Regions from separate parts of the Homo sapiens genome. Here regions 2, 3, 4, 5 and 6 are each linked to region 1. The links are contacts of gene promoters, found by promoter capture Hi-C in human tissues and cell types (Jung and others, 2019). All regions are on one chromosome and are shown on one strand. The core of a region is centred on a gene start or on the middle of the fragment in contact, and the rest is flanking DNA. Distances in the headings are between cores, read along the strand shown.

Region 1 (4,091 bases), core at 856-3,355:
TGACTGATGGAATACGGCCCTCAGGCTGTCTACATTCTACTGCAGACTACCTTTAGGCGCTGGTGAGCAAAGACAGAGATAGTAAAATGAACATGTCCTGTTTTGTCAGACTTCTCATTGGGAATTGCGCCCCCTACCGACATGCCTTGCAGCAGAGGTGGGCCAGTCTATCAATCACAGTCGGTCATGTGCCCATTCCTGTTGTGTAAACCTCTCCCTGTCTGCTGAGATGGCTTGGTTCTGTTTTGGTCCAGTATGTCAATAAGATTGCTATAAGGGGCCGGGTGCAGTGGCTCACTCCTATAATCCCAGCACTTTGGGAGGCCAAGACGGGCAGATCACTTGAGGTTAGGAGTTCGAGACCAGCCTGGCCAACATGGTGAAACCTCATCTCCACTAAAAATACAAAAATTAGTCCCACGTGGTGGCCGGCGCCTGTAACTCCAGCTACTTGGGAGGCTGAGGCAGGATAATCGCTTGGACCTGGGAGGTGGAGGTTGCATGCAGTGAGCCGAGATCACACCACTGCACTCCAGCCTGGGTGACAGAGTGAGAGTCTGTCTCAAAAGAAAAAAAAAAAAAGAGAGAGAGAGAGAGAGACAGAGAGAGACTGCTATACGGATAGAGAAGATGGGATTCTCTCTCTCCCTCTTTGTCTCTGTCTCTCTCTCTGAAGGAGCAGATAAGCCTGAAGGTGCAAGTCCTATTTATCGTCCATACTAAGAACCAGTAAACACAGAGAGAAAAACAGCTAAGATATACAAGAGAGAGAACTAGCCCTGGAACCTTGTATGAGCCTCTGGAACTAGCTATAGCTTTAAACTGAAACCCTCGACCTTTTCATTTATGTGACCCAATCAATTTCTACATAGTATAAGGCAATTTTCAAGTGACCAAAACCCAACCCAAAGAAAACAATTCTGACAAATACGATGGGTAATGATGAGGGCAGTCTGACAACACCCCCTCCATCTGCAGGGCCCGTGCACTGGCAGCCCTAATCTTGGCCTCTGTGATGCTGTCAGCAAGTAAGGCATCCTGGAGGAAGCCTAACCATGAACAAGTCAGGGTGGGAAAGAATGCCCCCACCCCACAACACACACATCACCACATCAACACAAAGGGGGAAAAATCAAGCAGTATGCTATGTACTCCATGAACATCATATAACCTAAGTCTGTTGTAATGATTATAATATTAATAATACCTATTTTACTTTAAGGGAACTGAGGCTCAGAGCAGTTCAGTAACTTGCCCAAGGTCACACAGCTAGTTACTGGAATTTAAATAGCATTCTAGACTTTTCCCACTCTCTGATCCCCTGGCCTTGGGAGGTGGACAGCACCCCTCCACCCACCAGCTCCCCCCAAACGCCACAGGGCATACAGACCTGAAGCCTCACAACCCAAGCCCCCTGGAGTCAGAGCAGCCTCCAGACCCGGCTTTTGAGAAGCCCCAGGTAACTAACCAATGTGTAAGGTAGGTTATTCAACAACAAAAGTAAAGAGCCGGGGCAAGGGAAGCGGCGGCACCCAAGCTGGTCGCGCGTGAAGCGCTGCAGGGGGAAACACTGGAGCTGGCACGCTCGCTCTTGGCCCCACGATCGGCCTTGAACCCCAGCCCCAGCTCCGCGCTCTCTCCAGCAGTTTGACCCCCAGTATCTCCTCTCCCCTCGGCTCTGCCGAAGTCACTGGCCCCGCAGGGCTCTGGACGATTAGAGACCCACACCGCTCCAGCCTTGCCCCGGCCCCCTGCTCCCGTCCCGTCCAGATGTTGGCAGCTGCTCGCCTCGAGGCAGCGACCAGACCCCGACCCCGCCACTGCGCCGCGGCCCCGCGGCCCCGCGGCCCCGCGGCCCCGCGAGCTCCTGGCTGCCCCAGCGCGCCCAGAAGGGGCGCAGCGCATCTCCCGCCGCAGTCGCGCGGCCCCGCACTCGCTCCGGCGCGGGGTGAGCCGTCCCGAACCCACCACCGCCCCCGCCTGCTGCGCTGGCCCAGCTCACCTCGCCGCCCGCGCCCACCGAGCCTCTCGGCGCCCTCACCCGGCTCCCGGCCCAGGCTCCCAGCGCACCCGCCTGGGGCCGGCGTTGGCTGCTACCGCGCGGGGCGGGGCGCGGCTCCTCCCTGCCCTGAACCACCTGGGGCGCGGGAGGGGGCCGGGCCGGGACAGGTGAGCCTCGCCCGCGAGGGAGCAGCCCCGGGCCCGGCTCCGCTGGGAAACCGCAGGGCTCCACCACGAGGTTGAAAGGAGGCCCAGGCGGGCGGCAGTGTGGTAGTGGCCAGCGCTGGGGAGGCGGCAAGGAGCCTGTTCCCACCCAGCCAGCCCGGCTCAGGAAGTGAAAGAAGCACGGGATTCGGACCCCACCCAGCTTAAAGAGGGGAGGGTCCAACCCCTTTCTTCCTAGAAAACCAATGTAGAAACGAGGAGTGCAGACCCTCGGGAGTGAAAATGATTGGGCCAAGGGTGCAGGTGAGTTAGTTCAGGATTGGAAGAACTCTGAAAGACCTTTTTTGACCATTCCATCCAACCCCGTCCCCACCTTGCCCACCCGTCAAGTGATTCCCTCCCCCTTTTTAAATAATGACATTAAGCTATAAATAAGATAATTTCATATAGTGACGTCCTCCCCACCCCTGGACGGTAAGCCCCAGGAGAGGCAGGAACCTTACCCGTCCACTACTGAATCACCAGAGCTTTGAAAACTCAGGGCATTTAATACCTGATGAACAGACTAGGTGGCGCCCAGTCTTTTGCGTCCAGCGTTAGACTGGTCCCCTCGGCCCAGAGCTGCTCCAGCATCATTCCAAGCTTACTAGGGAGAATCCAGAGGCAAGCTGTTAGATTCCGGGCCACCTGTCCTCTCTCTACTGCTTACTCCCCACCCACTGCCAGCCAGGCAGCTGGGATGTGGGAGGTCTACACTCCCAGGGCACCTTATAGTGGTCAAGCAAATCTTTAACTTCTGAAGATGCCACAGACAGGAGAACTCTGAAATAAAACACTGTCCGGCCAGCCTTGCACTGTGGAAACACAGCTCAGAGTATGGGCCACTGACCCAAGATTCCATGGCTGGTAGCAAAGCTGATCCTGGGTCTGCATTTCTAAAGACAGTTGGCTGGTCTGGGGCCTTTGAGGGGCTGCTGGTTATGCCTGCAGTGGGGAAACCTGGGTACAGAACTTCTGCAGAAGTGGGGTCTGGGTTTGGTCCTCTGCTGAGACTTCTAATCTGTCTTTCCAGACCTCTGAGGTCAAGCATCTCCTGAGCCAGCTTGCATTTATTGAGGCCCCTGACAACCGCAAAAACAAAAACAATGGTATTTTTAGGTGTTCCATTTAACAAATGGCCTTCACTCACACACACACACACACACACACACACACACACACACACACACGAGGTAATGTGTCATGCTGCTCCTCACATGTTAATTTCAAGACTCGTTAAAAAAATCCATTCCGTGAAAAAATTCATTTCACTGCAGAAAGCACTGTACAACTTTAAAGTTGTATGGAGAACATTCCTTCTTATGACTATTTCAGTACACTTCCGTGACTATATATTAAACCTCCAAGGCCAAAATGGGAGGATCTCTATTAAGGTGAGGTCAGGGCCAAGAAGACTGCTCCACCCCTCCACTGACAACAAGCCCAACACTCTTAAGGTCTAGACACCCCACCCCTTCAGTGGGTTCTGCACATATGGGTATTTCAGATCTGGTGTTACCTGGCTGGCTACGTCACACTGGGCAAGGCCAACCTAGAAAAGGTTATATGGGATGCCCCACCTAGGTGTGCCCTACCTCAGTTGCTACTCCCTCTATGGTGGCAGGGAATCTGGTGTCCCAGGGTGGAGCTGTGGTGGGGCCTGCACTTTGGGACAGCCACTTGCACCAGCAGGTAGGGCTGAGCAAAGGAGCACCTCTGGGTCTCACTCACATGAAATGGACCTAGACCTTTTTTTGTGTTGGTTTCAGTCAGTAGAGCATGTGATCCCCTGTGATTTAAAATCCTGCTGCTGTGCGTGTGATCTTGGCTGGGCCAGCCTGCTAAGTGATGCCACCCAGACAGGCCTGAGAATCATCAGGAGGGTA
Region 2 (4,091 bases), core at 1,193-3,692, 430 kb before region 1:
AGAAAAATTGTAACTTGGGGTACAAAAAATACAAGAAGGATGACAAAAATTTTACCATCTACTTCAAAAGCAATATCTAAAAGAAAGAAAAACTTCCCATTGAGTCTCCTTGTTAGTCTTGCAATCACCTCACTGGTCTACTTTCTCCTCATCATCGCATATTATGCCTTGCTTCCCCATCATTCGAAAGACAATTTAATGCAGAATCTTCTCCATAAAGTCACTGGGGATTTGGAAGTGGGAGCTCTTTGGCAGTATGAACTGCAGATGGAGTAAGAAGCTGGCTGAGCCACTTAGTCGGCCCTCAGAATGAACTAGGACTAATCTCCACACATTTTTCCTTTCATTCTGAAATCCTCTGTCTAGATTATCTATGGCTGAATAGAACCCCATATCTGGGGAAAACAACTCCATCCTGGTTTGGGGCTCTGGACACAATTGACTCAGGTGGAATCTAGGATCTCATGAAGCATAATTAGGTGCCAAGTCAAGGAGAAGGCTGATCTCACCAATTATATGAAGGGATAACAGCCACTTTATGGACAGTGGCTCCATTAAGTTGAGGAAAATCCTCCTCCAGGCACCCCCACAAATATAACAAACTTTTATGATTGCCTTTTTGTCTTCTGCACAGAACAGAGGAAATGTGATTCCCAGCACTGGGAGAAGAATGTTGGGAAAATTAATTGAACAAATGGCTGGAATTGTTGGAATTACTACTCTTCCAGGGACTCAGTCAGAATTTCCAAGGAAATAGTCCATTCAGTTTGGAGTCAATGTTTTAAAATTCTAAAGCTACAAATGAACTCATGATTATATTTAAACCAATGGTTACTTTTCTCCTGAAAAGCCCACATCTATACATGCCCCTATAACATACTCCTAATATCTTACAGTCTCAGGACCTACTGCATCTCATGCATGTATTCTTCCAAATTAAGAACCCCAGATCTCGATAAATGCAGAACTACTTCTTGGAATGAAAACAAACGTTTATGGTATGGAACTTGGGCTGTACTGACAGAAGGCTTTGATGAGTCTCGGTTAGACTCAAAATGGCTACAATGAAGCAACATTTATTCCTCATGGTAAGTGGCAATGCTTGGCTGTGATGACCTCCAAGAGTGTTGTGTCTCACATGTGTAATTACTGTCAGGCCAATGACTCATGCAGGTCTGTGGACCATCGAGATCCCCATGGATCGCTATTAACACATGGAGCCACTGAGCCACTATAACATGAGCCCTAACCACAACCACAAGCAGGACACTATCACTGACATACAGCGTGGGTGCCCATTTGTCTGATTTATAGGTGACGTCGTGGCAAATGTGGCATCAGTTTCATTTCGGGGCAGTGGCAAGTTACAGATATTTCCTTCACAACAAGAAGTGCAGACCTGAAAGAAAGGAAGAAAAAAAGATAATGAGAAGCCAGCATGTCTTGGAAGGAGGCAGGGTTTTTGAAGGCACTGTCGCCCACATGGCAAGATGCAAGTAAAAATTACCTAATCTATAAAGGAGATGCCAACTCTACGTTCAGGAAGGCTGGGGATAATATTTCTTCTAGAAGCAATCTGGTCAACATGAAAACTCCCCAGGCCAAACTTCAAGAGAGCTAGGTTTTGTTTTTGACACCCTCCACCCATACGATTCTTACAAAGGTGTATAGCCTTCCTGGGCCTCAGTTCTTTCGCCCTTAAAATGGGAATAAAGAAACTCGTCCGTGTTTTTCCATGAGGCTCTTTCTGACTACTTGAGGAAGAGAGGGTAAGCCTTCGTTTGCCAAGTTTTCAAGTGAGAGTCAAGTGGCAACAACCCGGGTGGTTTAAACTTGAGTACTGACTTTCACAGAACTGTTTGCATAAGTGTCTCCATTCTCATTGGGTGAGTTAATGTTTGAAGGGTTTTCATTCATGCAGTTACTCCTGCTTTACACCACCTTACTCGTGGATCATTAGAAAGAAATAAACCCACAGAGTTAGTGACAAAAACTTTCTTGGGGCATGGCTACACAAAGTACAGACCAGCAGCTCCAACATCAGCTGGGAGTTTGTTACAAGTGCAGAATCTCAAACCTTGCCCCAGACAAAGAATTAGGACTACATTTTAACAAGATTCCCAGGTGATTCCTAGTCATAGGATGGTTATTAATAACATTCTATACAGTCATTTTCCTGCAGGGATTTGAGTCTTTAGTCACAGTGACACGTGCCAGGAAGTCAGTATAATGTTGCGGAGGTAGACTCCAAACCAGAGGTGAGTTGGAATTCTGTGCCTGTCACTTACCAGCTGTGTGACCGAGCATATGACCCAATTTCTCTAATCCTTAACTTTCTCCTTGGTAAAGAGGCCACAGTAACTCCTCAGAATCAAGTCCAATTTGCTGGAGAGGTCAGGGAAAGCCTTTGGTTTTACTCATTTTGAACCAGGAGCAGAATAGGCAGATTATATTTAAAATTTTAATTATTAGTGTATTCAAGAGGTTGCTTGAAAATTAGGTGTCTGCCTTCTTAAGAAACAGTGCTGTTCCCAGGTATTGAGAATGGACATTGCCCAAACCACCAGGAAGGCCACCTGCAGAAGTGTTCAGCTGCTAAATAAAGGCCAAAGTATGCTATGTTAAGGTCACACGTATAGACAGCATATAGACATGTATAGACACACGTATAGAGGGCAAGGCTGCCTTTCTGTGATTGTCCATATGCCCCTTCAAGGCTGCCTCCCAAGCTCATTTTACACTGAGTGCTTCTGTACATAGGCACCATGTGTTTCCGTATACAGGCTTCTACAGGTACCAGGTGAAGCTTAAGCGAACACACAAGATGGGTCTCCATCACCTATCAAATGACTCAAGAGCCAATGGAGACCCTCCCCAAACTAACATCCCAGTCACAACATGAGCCCTACTTTACAGAAAGTTATCAAAGCTGAATTGCGTCGGTCCTCCTGTGATGAATGAACTGGGTACATCTGCAAAGCTTCACTGTGATGGACATAACTGGTCTCTTGCTCCTCTTTTTTCTGGTAGCTTTATTACTTTCCTCTGAGTGAAGAAAGTTATTACAATAACACTGAACACCCTCTTCATGTGTGTTTACACAATTTATATCAGTTGTCCTATGCTCTGGTATAAATGTGTATTCTTTTAGAGTAAACAGGAAAGGAAGCGTCTTTTCATAGAGCATAAAGACAATCAAAAGACAGCCTTCACGGGGGAGTAAGAATCTGCTCATGAGTACTGGCAGATGTCTGAAGAGAAGGCAGCTGGCTATGTAGTACTGGTCACTTGCTCTGTTGCCCAGACCTTGTGGCCTTCATGCTCGGAGTCTCTGCAGCCAGTGGATAAGCACTCTTCCAGTGGGACACAGCGTTTGGTGACTGAGATACTGTTTCCTGTGACTTCCATTGTGTGCTGAGTGTAGCAGTATCTGGTCTCTGTCAACAGAGAAAATATATTTGAGATGGGAAATGTTGACCAAACCTGCCTAAAAGGAAAATAACAGGAGTGTCAGCATTATCATTCCAGAAAAGAGCTAATAGCACATAAGATGTGCACTGCTTTGAGTTTATGTCCAACCCCAAAGACCTCTTTGGAGAGCTCCACTTTGCCATGGTAGGAGGACAACCTTCAAAGAATATTGATTTCTCTGCCCAGCATTATTCCCATAAACCAAGACACAATGGTTTCTCCTTGCCTTTCAACAAATTTTGCCACTGGACTGATTTTTATTTTTAGGGGATGAGTGGTTTTGCGGGGATGATTTAAGAGGTATAAGTCATAGCAATTTTAAGGAAGATGAAAGGACAAAGAGGTTCAAAGAACTCAGGGTTAAAATGAGTTAGGCAGGTAACAGTAGTCCTCAAGGAGATAAAACACTACAGCAGTGGCTGGTGTGTGTGTGTGTGTGTGTGTGTGTGTGTGTGTGTGTGTGTGTGTGTGTGTGTGTTGGGGGGAAGCAGCTATTCACAAGAGCAGAACAATTTAAAACTTTGTGCCAATGAGCATAGCTGGGTCCAGGGTGCATTACAGACGAAGACTGAAACAATAATGAACATTTTTCCAAAATTGAGGAGCTTCGTTTCTCCCTA
Region 3 (4,091 bases), core at 1,082-3,581, 380 kb before region 1:
CAAAACAACCCTAAGACGAACCTTTGGGGAGGAAGTAAAGTGGGAGCTCCAGCAGCAATGAGAAGCATCGGTTCTGGGTAGAAGGGGAAGTCTACAAGCCTTCCCATGATCTGGTGCCTGCCTACCACTTGCCCCTTGACATTCCAGCTCAATTGACAGCGCCACTATGAATAGGTGTCTAGTGCACCACGCTGCTTCTCATTCAGTGCCTTGGCTCCTGCTGTCATCCTTGGTTTCCTTCAATTCACTACTGAAGTCTCAGTTCACTTCCTTTAGAAAGCCTCCCATCCCCTCTCCTCACACCAGATCAATTAGAAACCACCTTCTCTGCTCCTGTTTTGGCCTCTACCTATCTAAGGTGGCTACAGGCCTTATTTCGTAAGGACAATGAATGGGCTTTGTATTTTGACAGATTTGGGCTCAAGTCCCAGCTTTGCCACTTATTAGGTCTATGACCTTGGACAGGTTACTTTTTCTTTCCTCATCTCTAAAATGAGACCGATAGCTTCTATGCCGTAGGGACAAGATACGAATTAATATACCACATATAGCTTTCATTAGTTATTATGATTGCCAACATGTAGTAGAACTGTTAAGATGACATACTTTTTACTAAATTTTGAGCTCCTTAAGGGCGTAAATTTTATGGACATCATCTGATTTATCCTTAGGTCCCCAACCCCTATGACACAGGAGGTCTCTGATAGCGATTTGTTGATTTGATATAGAAGTAATCATAATAACTGCTTTTATAACAGAGGGATGTGTGTGTGTGTTGTGTGCATATTGACATGTGTACGCATGCTACAGGAACTTGGAAGAAGAAAAGAATTTGGGGTGTTTCTGGTGAGGAGGGTGAGAAGATAAAGCCATCTTGAGACGATGGCATCTTTCGGGGAAATCTTCAAGTCTTTGAGTAATACTTTTATCAGGGCTGGATTGGACCAGCAAAGGGTTCTGTCCCACATCTCCCAAATCAAGCTTACTCAGAGGCATCCATGGGAAATACTGTGCATTAAGAGTCAGAATACACATAAGCATATTAAAGGCTCTGAAATGTGCTGCAGTGAAGAAATCTCTTTGGTTTTGCTTAAGTCAGCATTTTCCCCACACTTATTTGAACAGTGACACCCCCCACCCCCCGCCCCGGCAGAGAGCTTATTTTTTAATGAACGTCTATTAACTAGTCTAGTTTTCTGAGGAGTAGTTTGGGGAACCAATGTCCTATTCAAAGTGTGTTATTTTATACATGAAGGAATTGAGGCATAGAGTATTTCAGGTATCTATCCGCAGAAAAAAGCTGGTAAACAATTAGAGCTTCAAGGGCAGCCTCGTTTTCCTGCCACCCTGGCTAGGACACTTTTCAGCCCAGTGTGCCATGTCACAGTCAGCAGAAACATAGCAACTCTAAACCTTGCTTAATTTCAACAGAGAAAGTAGGCAATCGTCTCATTTTGCAATGTACAGGGTGGTTAAAATCTACCCCAAATCTGCATCCCACCTATCAAAATTTCCCCCCTTCATCATGCAGCCTGATACCATCACGAACTGGAAATGTATTTAAGGTTCACAAATGTTTTCTTTTAAAATTCAAATAACCCAGAAGCTTACTTTAAGAGAACCTTCCTTTATTGAATGCTTCAGGCCAATCTAATTCCTTGACCTCCACATCCCACCTGAGATACAGCTGCCCCCACAGTGCTGATGAAAGAGGAAGGCAGAGGCTGGGAGGTGGGCAGGGCAGTCCAGCTGATCCTCCAGGTACATATGAGGTCACCCTGTACCTCCTTGCCCTGTGGGGGCAGATGGTTATCTGTCTTGGTGTTGCCTCCAACTGCCAACCCAGCTCAGGATCCATTACATTTTATAAAGATCAGATAAACCTCTATGTTCATTCCAATAATCAAATAAGTATACAAGGGGTATACTTATTTGATTATTGGGCACTGGAAATAAAAGGGCTTAGAGAAAAAGCTGTTAAAATTCAATTGCAGCAACATGGATGAACCTAGAGGACATTATGCTAAGTGAAATAAGCCAGGCACAGAAAGACAAACATTGTATTCTATGATCTCACTATATGTAGGACCTAAAAAAGTTGAACTCACAGAGGAAGAGTAGAATGATGCTTGTCAGGAGATGATGGGGGAAGACAGATAGATGGGAGACGTTGGTCAAAGGGTATAAAATGTCAGTGAGATAAGAGGAATAAGTTCTGGGGATCTGTTGTACAGCATGGTGACTAGAGTTAATAACAGTGTATCATATACTTGAAACTTGCTAAGAGAATAGTTCTTAAATGCTCTCATCACTAAAAAATCTTAAGTATGTGAAGTGATTGATAAGTTAATTAGCCTGATTTAATCATTTCACAATGTACACATATTTCAAATGGGTGTGGCAGCCACACCCAACAGCCACAAGCAGGCTGACCAGGAACCACTACAGCAAGGACATGAAGTGCTGGGCTCCAGAGCAGAGAGACCCCAGGCCCCATTACCCACTTGCTAGGCTTACTGTGAAGGAGAATATGTAATGCATCGAAAGCAGTGTGGTACAGTCCAGGAGCACAGGCTCTGGAGTGGGCCAGCTCAGCCTAGCACGCTGACTGCTCCTGGGAAGGTTGCTTAACCTCTCTGTGCCTTAGTTTCCTCAATTGCAAAATAGGGAAATTAAAACCTCTAGTTTAAAGGGCTCTTAGGAGGTTTAAAGGAGATAGTACACTTTGAACAATGCTAGCACATGCTTGCTAGCTAACATAGTCCTTAAAATCAGCTCACAGTAGGTGAAGAAGGCACCTGGTTACTCATCTGGGTCAAGACACTGCCCAGGAACGTTTGCTTTCCATTCAGAAAGACCTTTGAAAGGTCTTCCAAGAGGCGCCATAGCATGCCAAGCTCTATTATAAGAAGTCAAAAGCCTGGGTCACCACCTGTCAGACTTTCTAGCTGATCCCAAGCTAAGATCAGCATCTTGTGGTGAGGATAAAAACACAGGCAGAAGTGAAGCAAATTAGTTAGGGAAGGTCTGGGGCAGACCTTCTCAAATTTGAAAAGTGTTTTCTCCTATAAAAGGAGAAAACGGTTTCACAGACAGAACCTCACCCATTCCGTTAACTAATGAATGTTAATTATGATACTACTTATGAATACAGACAGAAAACTGATATTAAGCTTTAAAGTCCATATATGGCTTTAAAACTAAATAAAAATTGCCAAATATAAATATTATATTCAAATAAAATACATTGGTTACATGGAAAATAACAGCAACAATTAACGTTTATTGAGCACTTACTATAGGACTGAATAGTATTAGATTGCCACTATCCCATCATTTTCGACCTACAAAAACAGCAACTTCATATGGCTCAACCTAGTAGGTGCAAGGTGCTTCCATAGGTGCTTTCTGTAATCCCCACAACACTCAGTGTAGTAGGGGTAATTATTATTACTCCATTTTACAGATACAGAAACTGGGACATCAAGAAATAAAAACACACTTTTTTTTTTTTTTTTTTTTTTGAGATGGAGTCTTGCTCTGTCACCCAGGCTGGAGTGCAGTGGTATGATCTCAGCTCACTGCAACTTCTGTCTCCCAAGTTCAAGCAATTCTCTTGCCTCAGCCTCCCAAATAGCTGGGATTACAGGCATGCGCCACCAGGCCGGGCTAATGTTTTGTATTTTTAATAGAGACAGGGTTGTTGGCCAGGCTGGTCTCAAACTCCTGACTTCAAGTGATCTGCCCGCCTTGGCCTCCCAAAGTGCTGGGATTAAAGAAAGTGGTGGGATTAAAGAAAAGTGCTGGGATTAAAGAAAGAGGGTATCAAAAAGGGCCAAGGTTTCCAAATTTGCTACACATTGGAATCCCCTGGGGATCCTGAAAAACTCCTCATGATGGCTCTCACCCATTACCATTTCACTGCTATGGGATGCGACCTTGACACTGGGATTTTAAGAATCCTCCAGGTGATTCTAACTTGCAACACAGTTTGGGAAACCTTATAATGCTTCTGCAAAGTTGCCAGCGGGAAGAAACAGCCCGAAATGTATTCTGTTATTCCACAGGCTGCAGCAAACAGCACTGAGAAG
Region 4 (4,091 bases), core at 1,042-3,541, 360 kb before region 1:
ATACTACAAACACCTCTATGCAAATAAACTAGAAAATCTAGAAGAAATGGATAAATTCCTTGACACATACACCCTCCCAAGACTAAACCAGGAAGAAGTTGAATCCCTGAATAGACCAATAACAGGCTCTGAAATTGTGGCAATAATCAATAGCTTACCAACCAAAAAGGGTCCAGGACCAGATGGATTCACAGCCAAATTCTACCAGAGGTACAAGGAGGAACTGGTACCATTGCTTCTGAAACTATTCCAATCAATAGAAAAAGAGGGAATCCTCCCTAACTCATTTTATGAGGCCAGCATCATCCTGATACCAAAGCCTGGCAGAGACACAACCAAAAAAGAGAATTTTAGACCAATAGCCTTGATGAACATTGATGCAAAAATCCTCAATAAAATACTGGCAAACCAAATCCAACAGCACATCAAAAAGCTTATCCACCATGATCAAGTGGGCTTCATCTCTGGGATGCAAGGCTGGTTCAATATACGCAAATTAATAAATGTAATCCAGCATATAAACAGAACCAAAGACAAAAACCACATGATTATCTCAATAGATGCAGAAAAGGCCTTTGACAAAATTCAACAACGCTTCATGCTAAAAACTCTCAATCAATTAGGTATTGATGGGATGTATCTCAAAATAATAAGACCTATCTATGACAAACCCACAGCCAATATCATACTGAATGGGCAAAAACTGGAAGCATTCCCTTTGAAAACTGGCACAAGACAGGGATGCCCTCTCTCACCACTCCTATTCAACATAGTGTGGGAAGTTCTGGCCAGGGAAATTAGGCAGGAGAAGGAAATAAAGGGTATTCAAATACGAAAAGAGGAAGTCAAATTGTCCCTGTTTGCAGACGACATGATTGTATATCTAGAAAACCCCACTGTCTCAGCCCAAAATCTCCTTAAGCTGATAAGCAACTTCAGCAAAGTCTCAGGATACAAAATCAATGTGCAAAAATCACAAGCATTCTTATACACCAATAACAGACAAACAGAGAGCCAAATCATGAGTGAACTCCCATTCACAACTGCTTCAAAGAGAATACAATACCTAGGAATCCAACTTACAAGGGATGTGAAGGACCTCTTCAAGTAAAACTACAAACCACCGCTCAATGAAGTAAAAGAGGATACAAACAAATGGAAGAACATTCCATGCTCATGGGTAGGAAGAATCAATATCGTGAAAATGGCCATACTGCCCAAGGTAATTTATAGATTCAATGCCATCCCCATCAAGCTAACAATGATTTTCTTCACAGAATTGGAAAAAACTACTTTAAAGTTCATATGGAACCAAAAAAGAGCCCGCATCGCCAAGTCAATCCTAAGCCAAAAGAACAAAGCTGGAGGCATCACGCCACCTGACTTCAAACCATACTACAAGCCTACAGTAACCAAAACAGCATGGTACTGGTACCAAAACAGAGATATAGATCAATGGAACAGAACAGAGCCTTCAGAAATAATGGCGCATATCTACAACTATGTGATCTTTGACAAACCTGGGAAAAATAAGCAATAGGGAAAGGATTCCCTATTTAATAAATGGTGCTGGGAAAACTGGTTAGCCATGTGTAGAAAGCTGAAACTGGATCCCTTCCTTACACTTTATACAAAAATTAATTCAAGATGGATTAGAGACTTAAACGTTAGACCTAAAACCATAAAAACCCTAGAAGAAAACCTAGGCATTACCATTCAGGACATAGGCAGGGGCAAGGACTTCATGTCTAAAACACCAAAAGCAATGGCAACAAAAGCCAAAATTGACAAATGGGATCTAATTAAACTAAAGAGCTTCTGCACAGCAAGAGAAACTACCATCAGAGTGAACAGGCAACCTACAAAATGGGAGAAAATTTTCACAACCTACTCATCTGACAAAGGGCTAATATCCAGAATCTACAATGAACTCAAACAAATTTACAAGAAAAAAAACAAACAACCCCATCAAAAAGTGGGCGAAGGACATGAACAGACACTTCTCAAAAGAAGACATTTATGCAGCCAAAAAACACATGAAAAAATGCTCACCATCACTGGCCATCAGAGAAATGCAAATCAAAACCACAATGAGATACCATCTCACACCAGTTAGAATGGCAATCATTAAAAAGTCAGGAAACAACAGGTGCTGGAAAGGATGTGGAGAAATAGGAACACTTTTACACTGTTGGTGGGACTGTAAACTAGTTCAACCATTGTGGAAGTCAGTGTGGCGATTCCTCAGGGATCTAGAACTAGAAATACCATTTGACCCAGCCATCCCATTACTGGGTATATACCCAAAGGACTACAAATCATGCTGCTATAAAGACACATGCACACATATGTTTACTGCGGCACTATTCACAATAGCAAAGACTTGGAACCAACCCAAATGTCCAACAATGATAGACTGGATTAAGAAAATGTGGCACATATACACCGTGGAATACTATGCAGCCATAAAAAAGGATGAGTTCATGTCCTTTGTAGGGACATGGATGAAATTGGAAATCATCATTCTCAGTAAACTATCATAAGGACAAAAAACCAAACACTGCATGTTCTCACTCATAGGTGGGAATTGAACAATGAGAACACATGGACACAGGAAGGGGAACATCACACTTTGGGGACTGTTGTGCGGTTGGGGGAGGGGGGAGGGATAGCATTAGGAGATATACCTAATGCTAAATGACGAGTTAATGGGTGCAGCACACCAGCATGGCACATGTATACATATGTAACAAACCTGCACGTTGTGCACATGTACCCTAAAACTTAAAGTATAATTATAATAAAATAAAAAAATAAAAAAAAAGTGGGCTAAGGACATGAATAGACAATTCTCAAAAGAAGATACACAAACAGCCAACAAGTATATGGAAAAATGCTCAGCATCACTAGTCATCAGGGAAATGCAAATCAAAACCACAATATAATACCAACTCACTCCTGCAAGAATGGCCATAATCAAAAATAACAGATGTTGGCATGGATGCCAAGGAGAAAAGGGAAAACGTCTACACTGTTAGTGGGAATGTAAACTAGTGCAGCCACTATGGAAAACAGTGTGGAGATTCCTAAGTGAACTAAAAATAGATCTACCATTTGATCCAGCAATCCCACTGCTAGGTATCTACCCAGAGGAAAATAAGTCATTATATGAAAAAGATATTTGCACATGCATGTTTACAGGAGCACAATTTGTAATTGTAAAAATATGGAACCAGCCCAAATGCCCATCAGTTAACATGTGGATAAAGGAAATGTAATACACACACACACACACACACACACACGCAAACACACACCATGGAATACTATTCAGCCATAAAAAGGAATGAAATAATGGCATTTGCAGCAACCTGGATGGAATTGGAGACTATTATTCTTTTTTTTTTTTAAGTTCTGGGATACACGTGCAGAACGTGCAGGTTTGTTACATAGGTATACATGTGCCATGGTGGTTTGCTGCACCTGTCAACCCGTCATCTAGGTTTTAAGCCTCTCATGAATTAGGTATCCAGAGACTATTATTCTAAGTGAAGTAACTCAGAAGTGGAAAACCAAACATCACATGTTCTCACTCATATGTTGGAGCTAAGTTATGAGGATGCAAAGGCGTAAGAATGATACATTGAACTTTGGGGATTCGGGGGAAGGGGTGGGGGGTGGCAAGGGATAAAAGACTATGCAGTGGGTACAGTGTACACTACTCGGGTGTTGGGTGCACCAAAATCTCAGAAATCACCACTGAAGAACTTATTCATGTAACCAAACACCACCTGTTCCCCAAAAACCTATTGAGATTTAAAAATTTTAAATTAAAATAATACTAAAAATAAAAGATCTGGGAATAAACATTGGACACAAATCCTACTCTCAAGGCACTTACAAGCATAATGAGGTAATATTCCTAAAGTAGAGATTTCCACCAGATATAGAAAATGTGTATGTGGAAAAAGACAGGGAATATGAGATGTGTGGATACAGAGTACCATCAATGCTCGAAGAATGGACACTTAACCCCACCTGGGGCTCACAGAGGGCTTCCTGGAAGAGATGGCACAGACAGAGCCTTCCAG
Region 5 (4,091 bases), core at 939-3,438, 340 kb before region 1:
TAGGAACTATGTCTCATTACTGGATCCCCAGGGCCTGACCTCATGCCAGGCACATTGGAGATGGTATATTTGCGATGAATACACATGAGGCCTGCAGGAGGCTCCAGGGCAAGAGTAATGATAAAGCCAGCAAACACAGATACAGACACTGGAAGGATCAGAGGTGCCCTAACAGTTTCCCTTGCTTTTTTGGGGGGGTGGGGGGGGGGGTGGGGACAAAGTCTCGCTCTGTCGTCCAGGCTGGAGTGCAGTGGTGTGATCTCAGCTCACTGCAACCTCCGCCTCCCAGAATCAAGCAATTCTCCTGTCTCAGCCTCCCGAGTAGCTGGAACTATAGGTGTGTGCCACCACACCGGGCTAACTTTTGTATTTGTAGTAGAGGCGGGGTTTCACCGTGTTGCCCAGGCTGGTCTCAAACTCCTGACCTCAGGTGATTCACCCACCTTGGCCTCCCAAATACTGGGATTACAGGTATGAGCCACCGCACCCAGCCACTTTGCTTTTTTATGCTCACATTATTACCGGGCCTGTGAGAGCCACTGTTCCTTCAAGGTTAGAGCCTACATCTGGGAGAAGTGCTCCTGCCTCTCGCAGCATCCCTTTAAGTCTGATAAAGCAGCTCCTGTGTGCGGTGCCCACTTCAACCTGGGACTTGCTTGGCAGTTGTGTTTTTTTTTTTCCAGTGATTAAGCCAAGCAGGCAGATTCCTGCATAGTCTCCTTGCAACAGAACCTGCCAGCAGACCTGACAGACAACATCACTCCGCATGTTTCCAAGAAAAAAAAAAAAGGAAAAAAGAAAGAAAAGAGTCATCTACTTCACCACAAAAAACCACTTGCCTATTCAAAGTCATTTGTTGTTAGACAAAGTTCTAAACCAGGGGTCATCAGTTTTCTTAGCAGCAATAGTCCAGACCCTGGTTAAGACAGTGGAGCCCTATAGTGAGATGGCTCATATATGTATAACCATATACAGCAGAAGTCTGATTTTATGCTATCTCCTGATCCCAGTGACAAAGGAGATGCAAAGGTTTGGTGACTGCACTGTAGACAGTTTATATAAAACCAGGAGAAAAGAACATGGGAGCTTTGGATTGCTCCATATTTAATTAAATGAATTTAGTCAGTACTGCACCTACAAAATGCCAGATTCCAAATTAGGGAACAGTAGCAATGGTTACATGTGAGCTTTACCAGCAGTTCTGAGGATTTCAAATCTTTCTACACTTTATAAGCTTTACATGCGTCCCTGGATTAAGTTGCTTATCCCAGATAAGAAATTGTATATAAAGACAGTGAAACAGTGGGTAAGACACAATGAGTACCCAGTAATATATTTTTATTAGATCTTCTACACATGTATGGCATCTAATGATAATGAATTTTATATTAAATTGCAATATTATTAATTGCATTTAATTCTCACAACAACCCTATGAAGTAGTTATTATTAGTAGTATTTTACAGATGGGAGATTAGGAGATTAGGTTTATCTGACCTTGTTCTTTATCCCCTCCTCTAGAACATCCAAGCAGTGGTTTTTCCAAACTAGGAAGACCCCCCTACTGAGCAGAGTTAAGAAGGCAATGGAAAAAAAAAATGTTCTGGGCTCAGAATGGCGTGGGTGAGGGACTTCTAATTCCATTTATTTTAATAGTATTCAGATGAAATGCAGGGCATACAAATAGATATGCACAGTGCAAGTTAACCACCAGAAAGCTCTTCAATCTTGCCAAGTTAGACAGAGCTGTTTCTTTTGTACCAGTTTTAGACCGCAAATCTGGAGAATTTATCTGTAGGGCTGTTTTCCCAAGGCCTCCAAAACAGACCCAGGGCAAACCACACATCCCGGGCTGACACTGCTCAACTTCAGCTTCTGTTGTTTCAGCTCTGAGGCGGTTTCCATGCCAGCATGCAGCCCTTTTGTGTTTTTGCAGCTTCATCCCAGGCCACATTTGTTTAGGTGCGTTCACTATCTCCAGTTCAGCTGCCTTCTCTCAGGCTAAAATAACACTTGGCTTATGCACTAAGAAAACGCTGCTATTGTAATTTTGCAGTGGTAGCATTTTTGGAATCAGATTCGCAATTCTGTATGCTTTGCATATTGATGGCATTGTTCTCGTTAGTCACATCCTGTCTAACTCTCTCAGTATCCCAGTCCTCAGCTTCCCATCATCCCAGACGTACTCTTGTTGGAATTCCCCCTTCCACCTGTCAAACCCAGTTCCTTGCCTCCCTGCAATCACAGCAATAATAAAAAATAACAAACAGCAATAATAACAACACTGTCTCTTTATAGCACTTGGGAATTTCAAATGTCATGGTAACAGTTATAGCAATGGGCCCACAAAAAAGCATGGTAGAATAAACAGAGAAACAAGAATATACAAAGAGAAAATGTTGGGAGAACCCCAAACATTTTTCTGATTCTCTTTAGGAAAGGTATTTTCTAAATCTATTTTTAGACCACTGGGATTTCAGGGTCAAAGAACACATAAGAACTTGCTGAGCTTTATTTTCGTCATGCCAATACAGAGGGCAGGACCACATCAGTGCCCATTCAATAAACAGTAGGCATGATTATCATCATCATCATTCCTTCAGAGGAAAAGAAACCTCTCACTCAAGTGTTCCCCACTCACACCCCACCTACCTCCCACAGTCCATGACTTCATCTCGCCAAGACCCATTACAATTAGTTTGATACCAACTGTATATCAAAAATCACAGTGCCACCCACGGGCACTTACTTATTGGGTTCATTTACGCTGATGAAAAATACTCAAGAAATCAAGGTAAATCCTGGTTTGTCTACCTTCAGAATAAATCTACTCATACCTTCACCTCCATCTAAGAAAAATTTACGAAGGCACTGTGATTCTAACCCTTAACAAACCCTGAGGTCTGTGAAACAGCTCTTCTGATGAATCATGGACAACCCCCAAGTCTCTCTAGATCCTTGAAGACTGAAGATCACCTGGACCAAACTGAACATCCCATCTCCTCTGAAACCCTGACTTCCTGCCAGAACCAAACAAGCTCCACAAATAGTGGGAGTGAAGTTGTTTCCTTCACTGCTTTCTTTCCTGGTCATCCCAGCACATTTCCTTGCATGCAAAACAAAACAAAACCACTATTTTTCCTCATAATTGTATTATAATATCATATTGCATAAATATGACTATGCTGTAAAATCAAATTTCATCCTGAAAATATTAACCATGTATAGTAAAAGCCTAACATGTGCTACCTTCCTGTGAAGCAGGATGTTAACCCTCCCTGTTGACACCAGCAGAGGGAAACTTACTATAGACTGGACTTTCCGATTCTCAGGAGAACCTCCTAAATGCAAGAATAAGGAGAAAATTAATATAGATCATTTCTCTTAAGAGCCTAAGACTCAGCAAACAAGAGAAGGGAGATTGTCAGGGACAGACTTCCCTTCAGTGTAACTTTATTCAACACAATATCACTCGGGCACCTACTACTTGCTGGGCTCTATCTAGATAATACTCAAATTGTTGCCTTCATTCCCAATATCATGGAGCACCAGGATCCAGGGCTAGATGTCACTGTGTCACAGGAAGTAGGAAAGTCACACATCTACTCTACTTTTCAACCTCGACTAAACATTGAGTTGACATCAAATACAAAGCCATAAGATGCATCGTATTCACAAAACACTTCCTAAACTCCAGACCTGAACATAATTGAGACTTTTTTCCTTTGTTTTTCTTTTTTCTCAGTCTATGTATTTTAGTCAACAAAACCATATGCTTGACTTCTGAAATAAAGTGATGTGAGCCTTCCCTGCCCTGGTTTCTTTCCATTATTGAGATTTCCATAAGTTTAAGAAAAGATGCTGGCCATTTAGCCTCCAAGGATACTTAGCCTCAGGATCAGCTAGACAAAATCTAAATTTCCCAAGAAGTTCCCTCAATACTTTGCCCTTTAAAGCAATATGAATCAATTATCATGCAGTTCATTCCTGCATGGGGGCAGGAATGGACCATAAAATGACCTCTTTAAAAATCCAACTGAGTAAATATAAAGCCACAAAAATAGTTTCCCACAGCAACTTTCTATCTTCAA
Region 6 (4,091 bases), core at 722-3,221, 260 kb before region 1:
GGAATTTCATGCAAATGGACACCAAAAGCAAGCAGGGGTAGCTATTCTTACGTCAGACAATACAAATTTTAAAACAACAGCAGTTAAAAGAGATAAAGAGGGACATTATATAATGGTAAAAGGCCTTGTCCAACAGGAAAATATCACAGTCCTAAACATATATGCACCTAACACTGGAGCTTCCAAATTTATAAATCAATTACTAATAGACCTAAGAAATGATATAGACAGCAGCACAATTGTAGTGGGGGGACTTCAATACTCCACTGACACCACTAGACAGGTGATCAAGACAGAAAGTCAACAAAGAAACAATGGATTTAAACTATACCTTGGAACAAATGGACTTAACAGATATATACAAAACATTTCATCCAACAACCACAAAATACACATTCTATTCAACAGCACATGGAACTTTCTCCAAGATAGACCACATGATAGGCCATAAAAGGAGCCTCAATAAATTTAAGAAAATTGAAATTATATCAAGCACTGTTTCAGACCACAGTGGAATAAAACTGGAAATCAACTCCAAAAGGAACCTTCAGAATCATGCAAATACATAGAAATTAAATAACCTGCTCCTGAATGAGCATTGAGTCAAAAACAAAATCAAGATGAAAATTAAACAATTCTTCAAACTGAATGACAATAATGACACAACTGGCCAAAACCTCTGGGATACAGCAAAGGCGGTGCTAAGAGGGAAGTTCATAGCCCTAAACACCTACTTCAAAAAGACTGAAAGAGCACACACTGACATTCTAAGGTCGCACCTCAAGGAACTAGAGAAACAAGAACAAACCAAACTCAAACCCAGCAGAAGAAAGAAAATTACCAATATCTGAGCAGAAATAAATGAAATTGAAATGAACAAACAAAAAATTGCAAAAGATAAATGAAACAAAAAGTTGGTTCTTTGAAAAGATAAATAAAATTGATAGTTCATTAGCAAGATTAACAGAGAAGAGAGAAAATCCAAATAACCTCACTAAGAAACAAAACAGGAGATACTACAACTGACACCACTGAAATACAAAAGATCTTTCAAGGCTATTATGAACACCTTTATGCACATAAACTAGAAAACCTAGAAGAGATCTATAAATTTCTGAAAAATACAACCCTCTAGCTTAATTCAGGAAGAATTAGATACCCTGAACAGACCAATTATAAGCAGTAAGATTGAAATGGTAATTTAAAAATTACCAATAGGAAAAAGTCCAGGACCAGGTGGATTCACGGCAGAATTCTACCAGATATTCAAAGAAGAATTGGTAGCAATCCTTTTGACACTATTCCACAGGATAAAGAAGGAATGCTCCCTAATTCCTTTTATGAAGCCAGCGTCACCCTAATACCAAAACCAGGAAAGGATATAACCAAAAAAGAAAACTACAGACTGATATCTTTGATGAACATAGATGCTAAAATCCTTAACAAAATACTGGCCAACTGAATCCAAAAACATATCAAAAAGATATTCCACCATGATCATGTGGATTTCATACCAGGGATGCAGAGATGGTTTAACATATGCAAGTCAATAAATGTGATACGCCACATAAACAGAATTAAAAACAAAAATCACATGATCATCTCAATAGATGCAGAAAAAGCATTTGACAAAATCCAGCATCACTTTTTGATTAAAACTCTCAGCAAAATCAGCATACAAGAGACATACCTCAATGTATTAAAAGCCATCTATGACAAAACCACAGCCAACATAATACTGAATGGGGAAAAGTTAAACGCATTCCCTCTGAGAACTGGAACAAGATAAGGATGTCCATTCTCACTACTCCTCTTCAATATAGTAGTGGAAGTCCTAGCCAGAGGAAACAGACAAGAGAAAGAAATAAAGGACATCCAAATCGGTAAAGAGGCAGTCAAACTGTCACTGCTGACAATCTGATCGTTTACCTTGAAAACCCTAAGAACTCCTCCAGAAAGCTCTTAGAACTGATCAAAGAATTCAGCAAAGTTTTCAGATACAAGATTAATGTACAAAAATCAGTAGCTCTTCTATACACCAACAGCAACCAAGTGGAGAATCAAATCCATAAAAGGGGATTTGATTTTATAAAAGGGGAGGGTCTCCCTTTCCCCTTTCCCACTTCCATTTGGATGTGGAGCCTCATGTGCTTTGTGTAAGAGGCTTTGTCCCAGAGACTCTGCTAATATAACTGGTGTTCATGTATTTGGCTTTTCTGGTGATTTCCTCACAATTCCTCAAAATTCCTTAAAGTCTTATATTATCATGGCATTGAATTAAAGGCATTTCTCTGCCTGTGAATTATAGAACACAGCTTTCAAATAACCTGGTTGAGAAGTAATAGAACTCCTCTATTTTCTGCCAAGAACCCCTGTGAATTACTCTCAGGAATAAGAACACAGGATTTAGTTGAAGTTAGTAGCTTTCCCCTTCCAATATGTATAATCCTTAAACAAATCATGTTCTGGTAGATGATCCAGAATTGAGTGCTTCCCTAGAATTCAACATAGTTGTTCTTCACTTTTTATTTTTCTCCTAAACAAGCACTGAATTATCTTGGGAAGGTAAGCCAGATGAGAGAGCCATTGCAAGCCCAGAGAATAAAAGTTCTCAGTATATTCCATATTCCTTCTCAAACACAGACCTTATTGCTAGCTGAGAGCAGAAAAGCCAAGTGGAAGAGAAGGCAGTTCTTTATTTATTATTAAGCACAGTGTATTTAATATAATTGGATATTATTGGTGGAGTGATTGCTCTAAAACAGAGATACTTAAACTCTCCAGCCAGCCCTGAATCAAACAGATATTGTAGGTGGGCTGATTCACACCCATTCGCAACACTTTTTCCCCCTGTCAACCTCTATCATAGAGAGTAGAAAAGTTAAATATTCATTTCACCCACCTCCCTTGCATAATGATGACCAGCCAATGAAATGTAAGTGGAAATCTGCTGGGGCTTTCTGGAAAAGCTTTTATAGCTCTGATAAAAAGAGACAATCACAGTTAGCATCATCCTCTCCTCCTTTAATTTGACTTGAACACAGGAGGGCTGTCTGGAGCAGCAGCAGCCATCTTGAAAGCAGGAGGTAATGACTAGGAGGACAAAAAGTACACAAAGAGATTGGATCCAGCATGGTGTTATTAACTATTTAAAAGAACAACAGCAATGGTTCTAGATTTTTTGTTATGTTAGATGCTCTGAGGCTAATATTTGTTGAGAAATCTGCTCTTATACCTAAATATATTCTTAACAAATACACAGGAATAACAGAAAAACCAAAGCTATCTGATACCTCTCATTTCTCGATTAGAATTAGTGCTTTTGTTTTTAAGATAATAGCATGTCTTGTATAATGAGCCAGTATTTTTTTCCAGAATAACTTTGACATGTCTCTACACAGAAATTAATGTTCCTATCTCAACTGACACACATGTGGCAAGAACAATAAGGGCACTTCCATTCTAGTTAAGTTTAGATTCCATGGTCATTGTTATAATAATTTTTGAAAAGACCCCCTTCCCCTCTTTAACCCCTCACTCCCTCTTTCACAATCAATTGGTAAAACCTCAATAATAGTGAGAGATCCAACCATCCTCTTCTTGTAGGCACCCAAGCTGCTAAATATTGTAGATTGGTTTCATGTTAAGTCATAGTGGAAAACCTCAAATGGGTCCTGAACTTTGCCCCCAAATCTAGTTATGTTTCTTTAGGGCTTACATTTGTATTCTCTAAGAGAGCTTTTATGCCTTTATCTTCTCAAATGTCTTATTCAACTTCCCCCTCCTTCACTCTCAGAGTTTACTTAGCAACTAGAAACTATCAGGTAACTGCCCCCATCCCTGCCACCTCCACAGCTACCCATCTTCTCTGACTTCCCTCCTCTGGCAACTGAAGAAATGTCATTTCTTCAATTAAAGGCATAACCCTTTATGCACTACCCTTGCTACTCAAAGTGGTCTGTGGACTGGCAGCACCAGCATCACCATCACCTGGGAAAAATGCAAGAAATGCAGACTCTCAGGCCCCATCATACACCTACAGCCTCACAATCTGCCATTTAACAAGCTCCCCAGGTGTTTTCTGTGTTTAT

The links. Contacts are between HindIII fragments. The study calls those that stand out against the background at their distance.
Region 2: a contact is called between a fragment that was not itself captured here and the fragment with the promoter of LYPD6B in region 1, in 2 of the 25 tissues and cell types used here (heart left ventricle and mesenchymal stem cells).
Region 3: a contact is called between a fragment that was not itself captured here and the fragment with the promoter of LYPD6B in region 1, in 4 of the 25 tissues and cell types used here (H1 embryonic stem cells, lymphoblastoid cells, mesenchymal stem cells and 1 more).
Region 4: a fragment that was not itself captured here is called in contact with the fragment with the promoter of LYPD6B in region 1 in 5 of the 25 tissues and cell types used here (H1 embryonic stem cells, bladder, hippocampus and 2 more).
Region 5: a fragment that was not itself captured here is called in contact with the fragment with the promoter of LYPD6B in region 1 in 5 of the 25 tissues and cell types used here (heart left ventricle, heart right ventricle, lymphoblastoid cells and 2 more).
Region 6: a contact is called between a fragment that was not itself captured here and the fragment with the promoter of LYPD6B in region 1, in 2 of the 25 tissues and cell types used here (aorta and mesenchymal stem cells).

Annotation. Positions count from the first base shown.
Region 1 is chr2:149,036,713-149,040,803 of GRCh38, reverse strand. It overlaps LYPD6B (LY6/PLAUR domain containing 6B), which reads right to left and starts at 2,105. Exons shown (of 7, transcript NM_177964.5): 1 at 2,003-2,105. RefSeq lists enhancers at 1,613-1,672, 1,713-1,762, 2,976-3,035 and silencers at 1,843-2,002, 2,013-2,352. The HindIII fragment of the contact is 10,219 bases long and covers 1-4,091 here.
Region 2 is chr2:149,467,991-149,472,081 of GRCh38, reverse strand. It overlaps LYPD6 (LY6/PLAUR domain containing 6), which reads right to left. Exons shown (of 5, transcript NM_194317.5): 4 at 3,307-3,437; 5 at 1-1,399. The coding sequence ends at 1,232. Among named protein-coding and RNA genes, the nearest start is that of MMADHC-DT, 120 kb to the left of the region's middle. The HindIII fragment of the contact is 4,136 bases long and covers 375-4,091 here.
Region 3 is chr2:149,420,823-149,424,913 of GRCh38, reverse strand. The region is part of intron 1 of LYPD6 (LY6/PLAUR domain containing 6); the gene reads right to left. Among named protein-coding and RNA genes, the nearest start is that of LYPD6, 92 kb to the right of the region's middle. The HindIII fragment of the contact is 3,728 bases long and covers 468-4,091 here.
Region 4 is chr2:149,401,448-149,405,538 of GRCh38, reverse strand. The region is part of intron 1 of LYPD6 (LY6/PLAUR domain containing 6); the gene reads right to left. Among named protein-coding and RNA genes, the nearest start is that of LYPD6, 73 kb to the right of the region's middle. The HindIII fragment of the contact is 5,604 bases long and covers 1-4,091 here.
Region 5 is chr2:149,373,901-149,377,991 of GRCh38, reverse strand. The region is part of intron 1 of LYPD6 (LY6/PLAUR domain containing 6); the gene reads right to left. Among named protein-coding and RNA genes, the nearest start is that of LYPD6, 45 kb to the right of the region's middle. The HindIII fragment of the contact is 5,007 bases long and covers 1-4,091 here.
Region 6 is chr2:149,295,812-149,299,902 of GRCh38, reverse strand. No RefSeq gene overlaps it. Among named protein-coding and RNA genes, the nearest start is that of MIR9899, 33 kb to the left of the region's middle. The HindIII fragment of the contact is 5,121 bases long and covers 1-4,091 here.